Linked DNA regions of Homo sapiens: all the other regions are linked to region 1. Evidence: promoter capture Hi-C in 16 types of primary human blood cells and fetal thymus (Javierre and others, 2016). All regions are on one chromosome and are shown on one strand. Each heading gives the region's core, a stretch centred on a gene start or on the middle of the fragment in contact. The rest is flanking DNA. Distances are from core to core; before and after follow the strand shown. Region 1 holds the start of TMEM256 (transmembrane protein 256). Region 2 overlaps POLR2A (RNA polymerase II subunit A). Region 3 overlaps ZBTB4 (zinc finger and BTB domain containing 4).

Region 1 (3,429 bases), core at 400-2,899:
ATCACCTGAGGTCGGGAGTTCAAAACCAGCCTTGCCAACATGGCACAACCCCGTGTCTACTAAAAATACAAAAAATTAGTTGGGCATGGTGGCAGGCGCCTGTAATCCCAGCTATTCAGGAGGCCGAGGCAGGAGAATCGCTTGAACCTGGGAGGCAGAGGTTGCAGTGAGCCGAGGTCGCGCCACTGTATTCCAGCCTGGGCGACAGAGCAAGACTCCATCTCAAAATAATAATAATAATAATAATAAAATTAAAAACCTAGTATGCATCAGAACCACAAGATGAGCTTATTAAAATACAGATTCTCAGGCCCGAAAGAGTGCTTCAGTAGGAATCTGTGTTATTTCAAGCATTCTTTATGACTTTGATGCCCACCAGGGTAAGAACATTATAATAAGTTAACTTAAAGTGACCAGAATCCCCAGACCTAAGGCTCACTGATTAAGTCTTAGGAAATGGAGGGAGTTCAGAGGTTGAATCCCCACCCTTCGTCCTCCAAGAGGTTAGATGAACAAAGACTCCAAAGTTTATTTGCCTTTCCTTTTTAATCCTCTTCTTACTCCAACTCTTTAAAAAAAAAACTGCCCAGAAAACCCAGTAATTAAGCAAAAGGGAGCTCAAAGAGCCAAGGCAAGCCAGCCCAAGAGTAGCAGGGTCCCTCCCGCAGGGGCCAAAGTCTGGATGCTGGGGTCTCCACTCAGAGCCTGGTAGTAAAAGCTGGTGCAGAATAAGGTCGTTCCGGAAGCTAGCAATAACCCAGCCTGAAGGAGACACAGCACAGAAAACAGGATTGTTAAGAACAGGGCAGGCTGAGAGGGAGTGTGTGGGGCTTGGTCAGGGTTAGGCGCAGGGAAAGATTACCCAGAGTGGCTTTCTGCAATGGGGCACCCCTAACAGGGCCAGGCTGTGTAAGAAGTGGTGTTTGTTGGCCTTGTCAAACAGCTGTAAGAAAAACAGAAACGAAGGGATGTCGTAGGCAATACAGGTACTGAGATCCCCTGATGACACAAGGGACCAAAGTTCCTTCCCCCACCCCACCCTTGAAGTCCCAGCTTGATCCCAGGCCTTTGGCTTACAGAGCCTTTGGCCTTTGCTGCTCCAGAGATCCGCGGCTCGCCCCACCCTCTCCCCGCCCACTTCCCCCAGGGACCCCAGACTTTGTGCCTTCGTAGACCCACGAGTCAGGGAGCCCCAGCGCAGTTACTTCACCTCCTTCCCGTAGGCATCTGGGAATTGGGCGCCTGTGGAGAAAAGAAGCAAAGGTTAGCGGTCCTAGTGCCAGCCCTGACCGCCCCCAATCCGGGGGGACCCAGGTGGACATTGGCGAGAAAGGGCACCCCCCCCCCCGCCCCAGGAAGCTTCCGATTGGTGGGAACACGCTCGGGCAGTACTGGGAACCAATTGGACCCAGCTGGGGGACTTTAAAAGGTTTAGGGCTCCGCGGACTGTCTGATAAACGAGAGGCCGGGCACCTCCCATAGGTTACGCCCTTGCAGCAGACCCCAGAGGACGCCCCAAGTACAGTCCCATCTTCGTCCCCAGCCCCCTGACCGTGCGCCCCGTAGGAAGCGAAGCCTAAGGCCGCAGCTCCGGACAAGGCGCCCAAGCGGCGGAAAGCTGCAGCTGGCCCGGCCATAGCTGTAGAACAGGACGCACCGGACCAACGCCGCCCAGGCCACCCAAGAGGCCAGCCAATCCCGACCGCCCATGCAAATAAGGTTCACAGGCGCCCAATCCGGGCCGTGTTCATTTCAGCATTGCGCTCTTCACCCGCCTTTGTAAAACCGCTGCAGAGTGGCGAAGACGTCTGGCGGGCGGAGAAACCAGCACCAATTAGGAACAGAGGAGCTAAGCAGTGGGGGGGCGGGGTTGAGGGCGGGACTAGGGGGATTTGCGTCAAGGATTGGCCCACTTTCCAAGTTGATCGCCTCTTCGAACCCCCCACCCCCATGCTCCGGCCAATTTCCAAAGATCCCGGTCTTCTCTCAAAGTTCCGCCCCTTTTTCCACAGGCTCCTCCTGTTCAGCTTCAAATCAAACCCACTACCAAAAAGAGGCGGCCCGAAAGATAGCAAAGCCCCACCTATTGCCAGTAAACCCCGCCCACTGCACAAATGGCCCCTCCCCCATGTCTGAAGGCTCCGCCTTCTTTGTATGATGCCCCGCCCCCTGTAGTTAAGATATTCTCCCCCCCGCCAGCCCTCCGAGACCGCGAGAGCCCCGAGGGTGGGAGATCCGGGGGAATGTCTCCACCCTGCCCTGGCCCGCTACGTCCATCTGTCCGTCTGTCCGCTCCCGCCTCTTCCCACCATCTCCAATCCCCCCATTCTCCGGAGGGCGGGCGGGCAGGCGGGTGCGAGCGGGGGGTGCGAGCGGGGGGTGTGCGCCGCTCTCTCGGCAGGGGGCGGGGGAGGCGGCCGCGCGGTGACGCGCGGGGCTGCTGCGGCTGCTCCGCCGGCGGATCATCACTCTCGGGCTGGGATGGACGCGGGGCGGGCCGGCCCTGGCGCGCGGAGCCAGGAGTCCGGGCCTCCCGGCTGCTGAGCGTCCCTCGAAGCCTCCCCTCACCCCCGCCTTCCCTCCTAGGATCCGCGCTGACCCCCGCCCCGGGGCTCTGGACTCGGCTCCCGCCCTCCTCTGACTCCCCGGACCTCCCCCTCACGCCCGCCCTCGGGATCGACTAGATCCCTCCCCCTCCCCGAGGATTCCGGCTGGATCCCTGCCCCTGCACCGCGGATCCTGCGCTCCCGGGCCCCGGGCCCCTGGGGATTAACGTGGACTCCTCCTCCAGCACCCGATCCTTAGGATCCTCCGCCTGGACCGCCTTCTGGTCCCTCGAAGCCGGCCCACGGAACCAGCGGATCCTCAATCTAGTCCTGTCCCGTTGCCCCCTCCTTTCTCTATCGTCCCTACTGCGGGGTTCCCTGTTCTCGGGCTCCCCCTGATCCCATCCCCTAGCTCTCCTTTTCCCGGGGATCGACTGGATCCCGGCCCCGCCCCCCGGGGCTGGGGCGATCCCCCTCCCCCGCCGGGTGAGGCGCTGCGGGCGGGGGCTGGGCCTGCGGGGCCGCGGGGGCTCAGAGGCCGCCGCCCCCTCCCGAAGGCCTTTCGCCCCCCACTCGGAGCCCTGGATGGAGGCACCACGGCCCCAGGGCTGAGCCAGGTAGGACCTAAGCCGGGTCGGTGGAGGGGGCTGCGTGGCGGTCCACTGGGGTCTCCCTCTCCCCATCTCCCTCCCTGCGCCTGGTTTCCCCCAGCCTGCTCTGTCTGCGTGTCTCCGCCTAGGGATGCTCTCGCCGTGTCTCTGCGTCTTGGTCTCTTTGTCTCTGCCTCTCTCCAGTCCATGAATGATCCTTTGAATGGGCCCACAGACCCCGTGTGTTCCCATCTCCCCCTCCCCCTCCTTCTCCCCTTCCCAGCCAAGCCATT
Region 2 (3,429 bases), core at 649-3,148, 91 kb after region 1:
ATGGGATTCAGGATGGTTGAGGCATTCTGCCTGCCTGAGAGGTGCTTATAGTTATAGGGAAGACAGACCCCCATAGGTCATTTTATTGCATTGTTGTATGTGCAGTGATAGAGGGCTGTGGAAGCACAGAGGAGGGGTGCCTGTCTACTTTGGGCAGGCTGTGGAAAGGCTTCCTGGAGGAAGCAGTGCCTGAGCCGAGTCTTGAAATAGGAGTTTTGCAGTGGGAAGAGCATTCCAAGCAGAGAGGCACTAGCATATAGAAAACCCCGGAGGAACGCAGCACGTGTTGCGCTGGATGTGATAGGCGACTCCAGGGAATTGTTACTGAGGAGTGAACAGGAAGGTGTGGAGCATCAGGGAAATGAAGGTTGAGAACATCATAAAATCCTTTTGGGAAGCTGTCCTGCTGAGTTTGGATGTCAGTCTGAGGACAAGAGGGTATGAATGATTACATTTTTAGTTTATTATTAATTTTTATTTTATTTATTTTTAGCACACATTTTTATTTTAGAATGAGCACCCCAGTTGTAATGTAGAAGGATTGGAGAGAGACAGGCTGGTGACCCATAGGAACGCTCTGTTGTAGACTACAAAGGAAGGGCCTGAACTAGGGCAATGGTGGTGGGGATGGAGAAGAGAGGCAAGATTCAAGAAACACTTAGGAGGCCAGGCGTGGTGGCTTATGTGTGTAAACCCAGCTGAGATTCCCGCCACTGCACTCCAGCCTGGGTGACAGAGCAAGACTTCTTAAAAAAAAAAGGGAGGTAAAAGTGACCAGTACCTGGTGAATGACTGAATAATAATAATGTCCATTCATAAAGCGCCAATTACATCCTGGACTTAAGCAAGCTAATTAAGTCCTTAATGGTTACATAGTTCATAAGTAATATAGGCAGAATTCCAAAGCAAGGGTGCCCGACAGCTAAGTCCATGTTCTTTGGACTGTTTTGTGCTTGAAGGTAAGGAAAGGTAAGCATAGGTTTCTGAATCTGGGATAGAGACTAAAGGAAAAAGAGAAGCTTTTGTGGAAAAGAGAGTTTGCTTTTAAACATGTTTAATTTGATTTTTTGGTGTGATGTTTGCAGGGGGTTCAGTAGGTAGTCACATACGTGAACCCAAAGTCCAGAAGAAAAGTAAGGCCTGGAATTAGAGAGTTGAGAATGAGTATCCAAGCATACCTTGGAGATACTGTGAGTTTGGTTCCAGCCCACCGCAATAAAGCAAGTCACATGGAGTTTTTTGGTTGCCATTGTGCATGTTACATTAGTACTATGCTGTAGTCTACTAAGTCTAAGTGTACAATAGCATTACAATTTTTTTTTTTTTTTGAGACGGAGTCTTGCTCTGTCATTCAGGCTGAAGTGCAGTGGTGCGATCTCAGCTCACTGCAACCTCCGCCTCCTGGGTTCAAGTGATTCTCCTGCCTCAGCCTCCCGAGTAGCTGGGATTACAGGTACCCATCACCACACCCAGCTAATTTTTTTGTATTTTTAGTAGAGATGGGGTTTCACTATGTTGGCCAGGCTGGTCTCAAACTCCTGACCTCAGGTGATCCACCCGTCTCAGCCTCCCAAAGTGCAGGGATTACGGGTGTGAGCCACCGCACCCGGCCCATCTACTTCTGAGTTCTTCTGTTTCCTCCTTTCCTTCATTGAAATGTCCCCATCAAGTCCTGGCTCTTCCTTTCTTGGGATTCCAGCTATTCACTTTTGCTTCAAATCATTTCCACCAACCTGTTTTTCTAGCACCTGTTTCTCCAGTCTTTTAATAAAATCTCTGGCCTGGCGCGGTGGCTCACGCCTGTAATCCCAGTACTTTGGGAGGCCGAGGCGGGTGGACCATGAGGTCAAGAGACCATCCTGGCCAACCTGGTGAAACCCTGTCTCTACTAAAAATACAAAAATTAGCTCGATGTGGTGGCGCTCACCTGTAGTCCCAGCTACTTGGGAGGCTGAGGCAGGAGAATCACTTGAACCCGGGAGGCAGAGGTTGCAGTGAGCTGCGATTGCGCCACTGCACTCCAGCCTGGCGACAGAGCGAGACTCCATCTCAAAACAAAACAAAACCAATAATAAAATCTCCATCTGGACACGAAAGGGTTCAAGCAGTTCAGGCCTTGAGAAGGAGGGCATGACAAAGATGAGGGAAAAGAAACAGGGCTGCATCTCTGAGTGCCTCGTTTCTTATCAGGGGCTTGAGTTGGCGGGGCATGTCTTGGTGCAGAACACCTGGGCTGTCATGGCGAGGGTACAGGTACAGAGAGGCTTCTGCCAGGATCTCAGATTCATGAGCTTGATTTCTGCTTGGGAGGAACAAATAAAGCATTGTTTTGTTTTTTTGTTTTTCCTGAAGCAACTTTGATTTCTTTTTGTGGCTAAATCCTATGGATGTCAGAGACCTAGAATTCAACCCAGATGGAAGTCTGGGGTTCATGTCCCAGTAGCAGGTGATTTGTATGGAACCCAGGATCGACCATTATCTAGTGTGAGTGCTTTTCCTGCCTCAGTGACTGGAATAAGCCTCTGACTTGGGATATTCAACTTTGGCCTTTTCAGAAGTGTACACACACCAATCCCCCATTCCCCTCACTCCAGGCTAAACTTAGTTCTTCTGTAAGTAGTTCAGGGTTTTCCCAGACCTTAGTCCAGAGCTCCCCAGCCACAAAGGCTAGAAACTAGGAACGCTGTTCAGTTGTTGGCCTTTCTTTCTTTGCAGAAGCGAATGTCTGTGACGGAGGGTGGCATCAAATACCCAGAGACGACTGAGGGAGGCCGCCCCAAGCTTGGGGGGCTGATGGACCCGAGGCAGGGGGTGATTGAGCGGACTGGCCGCTGCCAAACATGTGCAGGTAAGTGCTGGGGGGCCAGGTGGGATCCCAAAGGGGAGGTGGGTTGGGTCCTCAAAACTAGGGCTGACGGTTGACACCTGGAGGCCTCTGAGATGAGTGGGAGCTGGGAGGAAAGCACTGGGTGTGTGTCCCACAGGAAACATGACAGAGTGTCCTGGCCACTTTGGCCACATTGAACTGGCCAAGCCTGTGTTTCACGTGGGCTTCCTGGTGAAGACAATGAAAGTTTTGCGCTGTGTCTGCTTCTTCTGCTCCAAACTGCTTGTGGACTCTGTGAGTGGGGAACAGGCTCTGGTCTGGGAGCGGGGGTGCTTGGTAGGGGGCAGGGGGACAGCTTCAACTGACCCTGCTCTGCCCTGTCCCCAGAACAACCCAAAGATCAAGGATATCCTGGCTAAGTCCAAGGGACAGCCCAAGAAGCGGCTCACACATGTCTACGACCTTTGCAAGGGCAAAAACATATGCGAGGGTGGGGAGGAGATGGACAACAAGTTCGGTGTGGAACAACCTGAGGGTGACGAGGATCTGACCAAAGAAAAGGTGGCTGGGGCTGGCGGAGACTTTTGGGAAGGAGGGGTCAG
Region 3 (3,429 bases), core at 236-2,735, 73 kb after region 1:
CGGCCATATTATTCTAATTTTACAGAAGAGGAAACCGAGGCTCAGAGAGGGATATACCTTACTCGAGGTCGCACAGCTTGTAAGCAGCAGTCAAGATTCGAATCCAGGCCCAGCTGACCCCAGATGCTCAATCTTTCCCTCTGCCATACTGCTAGACCTGGCCCTGAAGAGGCCTATGGCCCGCCAGCTGGTTACATAAACCACCGCACAAGGTCTCACGTGCTAAGTGCTAAATGTGTCATGTCTGACTCCACCCTTTCCCTCACTTCCACATCCAGCAGTCATCAAGTGTGGCTGAAATCGCCGCCGAGCTTGGGAATGGCTCTGGAAATCTTCCCTTCGATAGCTCAGGTCCTTGTTAACACTCACGTGGTCCAAGGTTATGGCCTCCCAGCTATCCCCTGGCCTCCAGGCTTACCTTCCTCCATCCAGCCCTCCTCCCCCTGAGGGTCAACGTCCCTAACCACAGTTCAGGACTATCACTCCTGGGCTCAAAACCTCCACTGGTCCCCACTGACTCTAGAAGAAAGTTCAAATTCTTCTACCAGGCAGTCAAGGGCTCTGGTCTAGCTCCAATCTTCCTTTTTAATCTTGCCTTGTGTTATCCTCTTCAAACACACAGTACTCAGCGTGAGCCAGGCGTGATGGCAGATACCCATAGTCCCAGCTACTCAGGAGGCTGCAGCTAGAGGATTGCTTGAGCCCAGGAGTTTGAGTCCAGCCTGGGCAATATATTGAGACCCAGTTTCTAAACAAATGAACAAAACCCCAGACACCCAGTGTGCTCTCCAGCTTCTACATGACCCACACCTTCATGCCTTTGCCTGTGCTGGCTTGTTCTGCCAGAAATGCTCTTTCCCCAAGCTTGTCAAAATCCCTCCAAAACGTTAAGATCTGACTCCAAGGCCACCTCCTTCTTGGCCCTCCCTGATCCACAGGATGAGAACGATCATTCCTTCCTCTGACTCATCAACCTTTTGTGCTCCTATGGCCAGCATCCACCTTACACAGCAGCAGAGACTCAGGTTCTCATGCCCTCAGCTGGGGATCCCTGAGCATCCGGGTCTTCTGAAATGGACTGCTGCAAATGCTAAGTTCTGCAGCAACTGGGGAGAAGAGTGTTGGAGGGAGTTGCACAGAAAGGACCATCCACTGAATGTTCCAGAAGGCAGCAGAGTACAGTAGTTAAGAGCACAAGATCTTCAACCTGATTGCCCGGGTTCAAATACAGCTTCACCTCTTACTAGCTAAGTGACTTGGGGCAGATTACTTAACTTCTCTGGACCTCAGCTGCCTCACTTGAAAAAGGGAGGTAGAGTGCCTACTTCAGGGTGTTGTTCTGAGGACAGAGTGGCCACATATAAGTGCCCTGAGGACAGGCTGGTGCACGGTCAGTGCTAAGCAAGTGTGTGCTGCCATTATTATCAGCGAAGCCCCAAGAAGGGAATTCCCAGTCCTGGGGGAGGGCTGACAGGGGCTGGCATAGGCACAGCCCCCAGACTATAGCCACTTTCCGGGTCCGTTTCCCATGTGCTTTTGGAAGATACGCAGGGCAGACAATCAGCCCCATTCTGCAGATGAGGAACTGAGCTTCCTTCAGATCAAGTGCCAGTGAGGGAATGGTAAAGACGCCAGAGCTCCTCAGCCCTGGACCATGGCTCCTTTCTCTTCACCAGACCGTCACTGTGCACCTGTTGAGCAGGCTCCCACGGCAGCCACCCCTTCCCAGCCCCCCATGCCGGAGGGCCTGTCCGCAGCACCCTCCCTTCCCCCACGTACACACATCCTTCCAGTGGGGCCGGGCACAGTAGACAGTGGTGTGCAGGCTTGGAATGCACTTGCACACACACCCCTAGAAGGGCCCAGTCCCCAAAGGTGAGGAAAACCTGTTCTGAGGAATCTGCCTAGTGAGCGAATTCTGTTCTGAGGCCCTTCCACCGTCGCAGGAGTGGGGCCCAGTGTGCGTCAGAGATACCCACAAGGGGGGCAGAGAGAGGGAGAGGGTGAAGCAGGAGGAGGCTGAAAACTTCACGTTTCTTTTTTCCATTTTAGTGACAAGAGTCACACCCAGCCTTTACATAAACATGGCCAAGGAGCCTCTCTGTCTAAGCTTACTTCCCTTGTGGCCGCCCAGCCTCTCCTCCGGGTGACCCTGACACGCTGGGCAGGCTCATGAGGGGCAAACATACAGACCCTGCAAAGATTAGCTGGGCCATCTGACAACACCCATGCCTCCCGCCGGCCTCCATGCGCTACCCTGCATTTATCTCCCGCCTTCCTCATACCAAATCCCCTCCGCAGCCCCACCGCCACTTAAGCACACAGACGGCAGGCACGCACACACAGCCTGCTTGCGGCTGGCCTCTTGGGTCTGAGGCCCACACTGCCCTTGTCACGCCACCTCCCTCCCCACATGTGTTTTCTGACCAGTTTGCCTCCCAGCTCAGCAGCCCAGACAGGCTCCTACAAACAACGTCACAAAAGAATCCTGTGGAGAATGTTGCAAACACACAACCTTCCCCTCGCTTGGCTGCCCATGATCCCATAAACACAACTGGCGCATTCCACCTCGAGCCCCTCACACCAGTGCCAACTGACCCACAGGCCCCTGAGACATACCCCGGGGTTCCTCGCTCCTCTCATGATCTTTGGGATCTGAGTTCTAGACGCGCAGCCCCCATGCAACGCGCTCATCACAGACACGCAAACCCATCCATCGCCCTCTTCACCACTGGACCACACCTCAGCAGGGCCACAGAAATGGGACCCAGACGTGACGCCTTCTGACTCAAAGGCCCACAACCGCCCCCTCCAAAAGGGCACATACACTGCATCCTGGCACCCTCCGCAACACATACAGCATGCCAGCTCTGCAGAAAACAGTTCATAAACAGGTCATAGGTGCAGCACAAGACACACATGCGAGAAAACACATGCTGTAGAAAACATACAGCCCCACATCGAACAAACTCTGCACCCAGCATGCTGTGCCCTGCTCAGAATACCCATCTGTCACCCAAAGCCACAGGGCTCGTCTTGTAACTCTGCCCCACAACACTGGACACCCTTCCTGGCTTTCTATCTCCATGGCCCAGGGAGGGCCCTACCCAGACCCCTGGCTGCCAGCAAACGGTGGTGCCCAGGAGAGGTTTACCTTGCCCCACCACACAGCACAAGACACACGATCTCCAAGACTCACAGCCACAACCCTGCCCCGACGGCGCGGCGGTTCCGGGGCCCCAGCTCGCCCTGCGCACCCCGCACACCCCAACTCTGGGGCGCTCGGCGGCCCACCCCTCCCCCTCTCTGCCTGGCTCCTACGCCATCACCCTCCCAGCAGCTTGCAGCGCTTGCCCGGGCTCACACCCGCCCCACCCCACCCCCAATCTGCCCCACGGGGGGAGGGGGCCATTAGGCTGCAGAATTAAC

The links. The method cuts DNA at HindIII sites, captures the fragments that hold promoters and counts their contacts. A CHiCAGO score of 5 or more calls a contact.
Region 2: a fragment that was not itself captured here is called in contact with the fragment with the promoter of TMEM256 in region 1 in 5 of 17 cell types (endothelial precursors, total CD8 T cells, erythroblasts and 2 more); the score reaches 6.2 in endothelial precursors.
Region 3: a fragment that was not itself captured here is called in contact with the fragment with the promoter of TMEM256 in region 1 in 1 of 17 cell types (endothelial precursors); the score reaches 6.3 in endothelial precursors.

The regions. Positions count from the first base shown.
Region 1 is chr17:7,402,448-7,405,876 of GRCh38, forward strand. TMEM256 (transmembrane protein 256) reads right to left here and starts at 1,650. Exons shown (of 4, transcript NM_152766.5): 1 at 1,553-1,650; 2 at 1,211-1,242; 3 at 863-943; 4 at 528-762. The coding sequence starts at 1,637. The coding sequence ends at 619. It overlaps TMEM256-PLSCR3 (TMEM256-PLSCR3 readthrough (NMD candidate)), which reads right to left and starts at 1,684. Exons shown (of 10, transcript NR_037719.1): 1 at 1,553-1,684; 2 at 1,211-1,242. It also overlaps a transcript of NLGN2 not described here. RefSeq lists an enhancer at 1,459-1,638 and a silencer at 2,129-2,458. The HindIII fragment of the contact is 6,317 bases long and covers 1,358-3,429 here.
Region 2 is chr17:7,493,226-7,496,654 of GRCh38, forward strand. POLR2A (RNA polymerase II subunit A) reads left to right here. Exons shown (of 30, transcript NM_000937.5): 2 at 2,716-2,848; 3 at 2,985-3,121; 4 at 3,215-3,388. Among named protein-coding and RNA genes, the nearest start is that of POLR2A, 11 kb to the left of the region's middle. The HindIII fragment of the contact is 1,762 bases long and covers 1,018-2,779 here.
Region 3 is chr17:7,475,733-7,479,161 of GRCh38, forward strand. All of the region lies in intron 1 of ZBTB4 (zinc finger and BTB domain containing 4), which reads right to left. Among named protein-coding and RNA genes, the nearest start is that of ZBTB4, 2.2 kb to the right of the region's middle. RefSeq lists a silencer at 3,206-3,255. The HindIII fragment of the contact is 1,246 bases long and covers 863-2,108 here.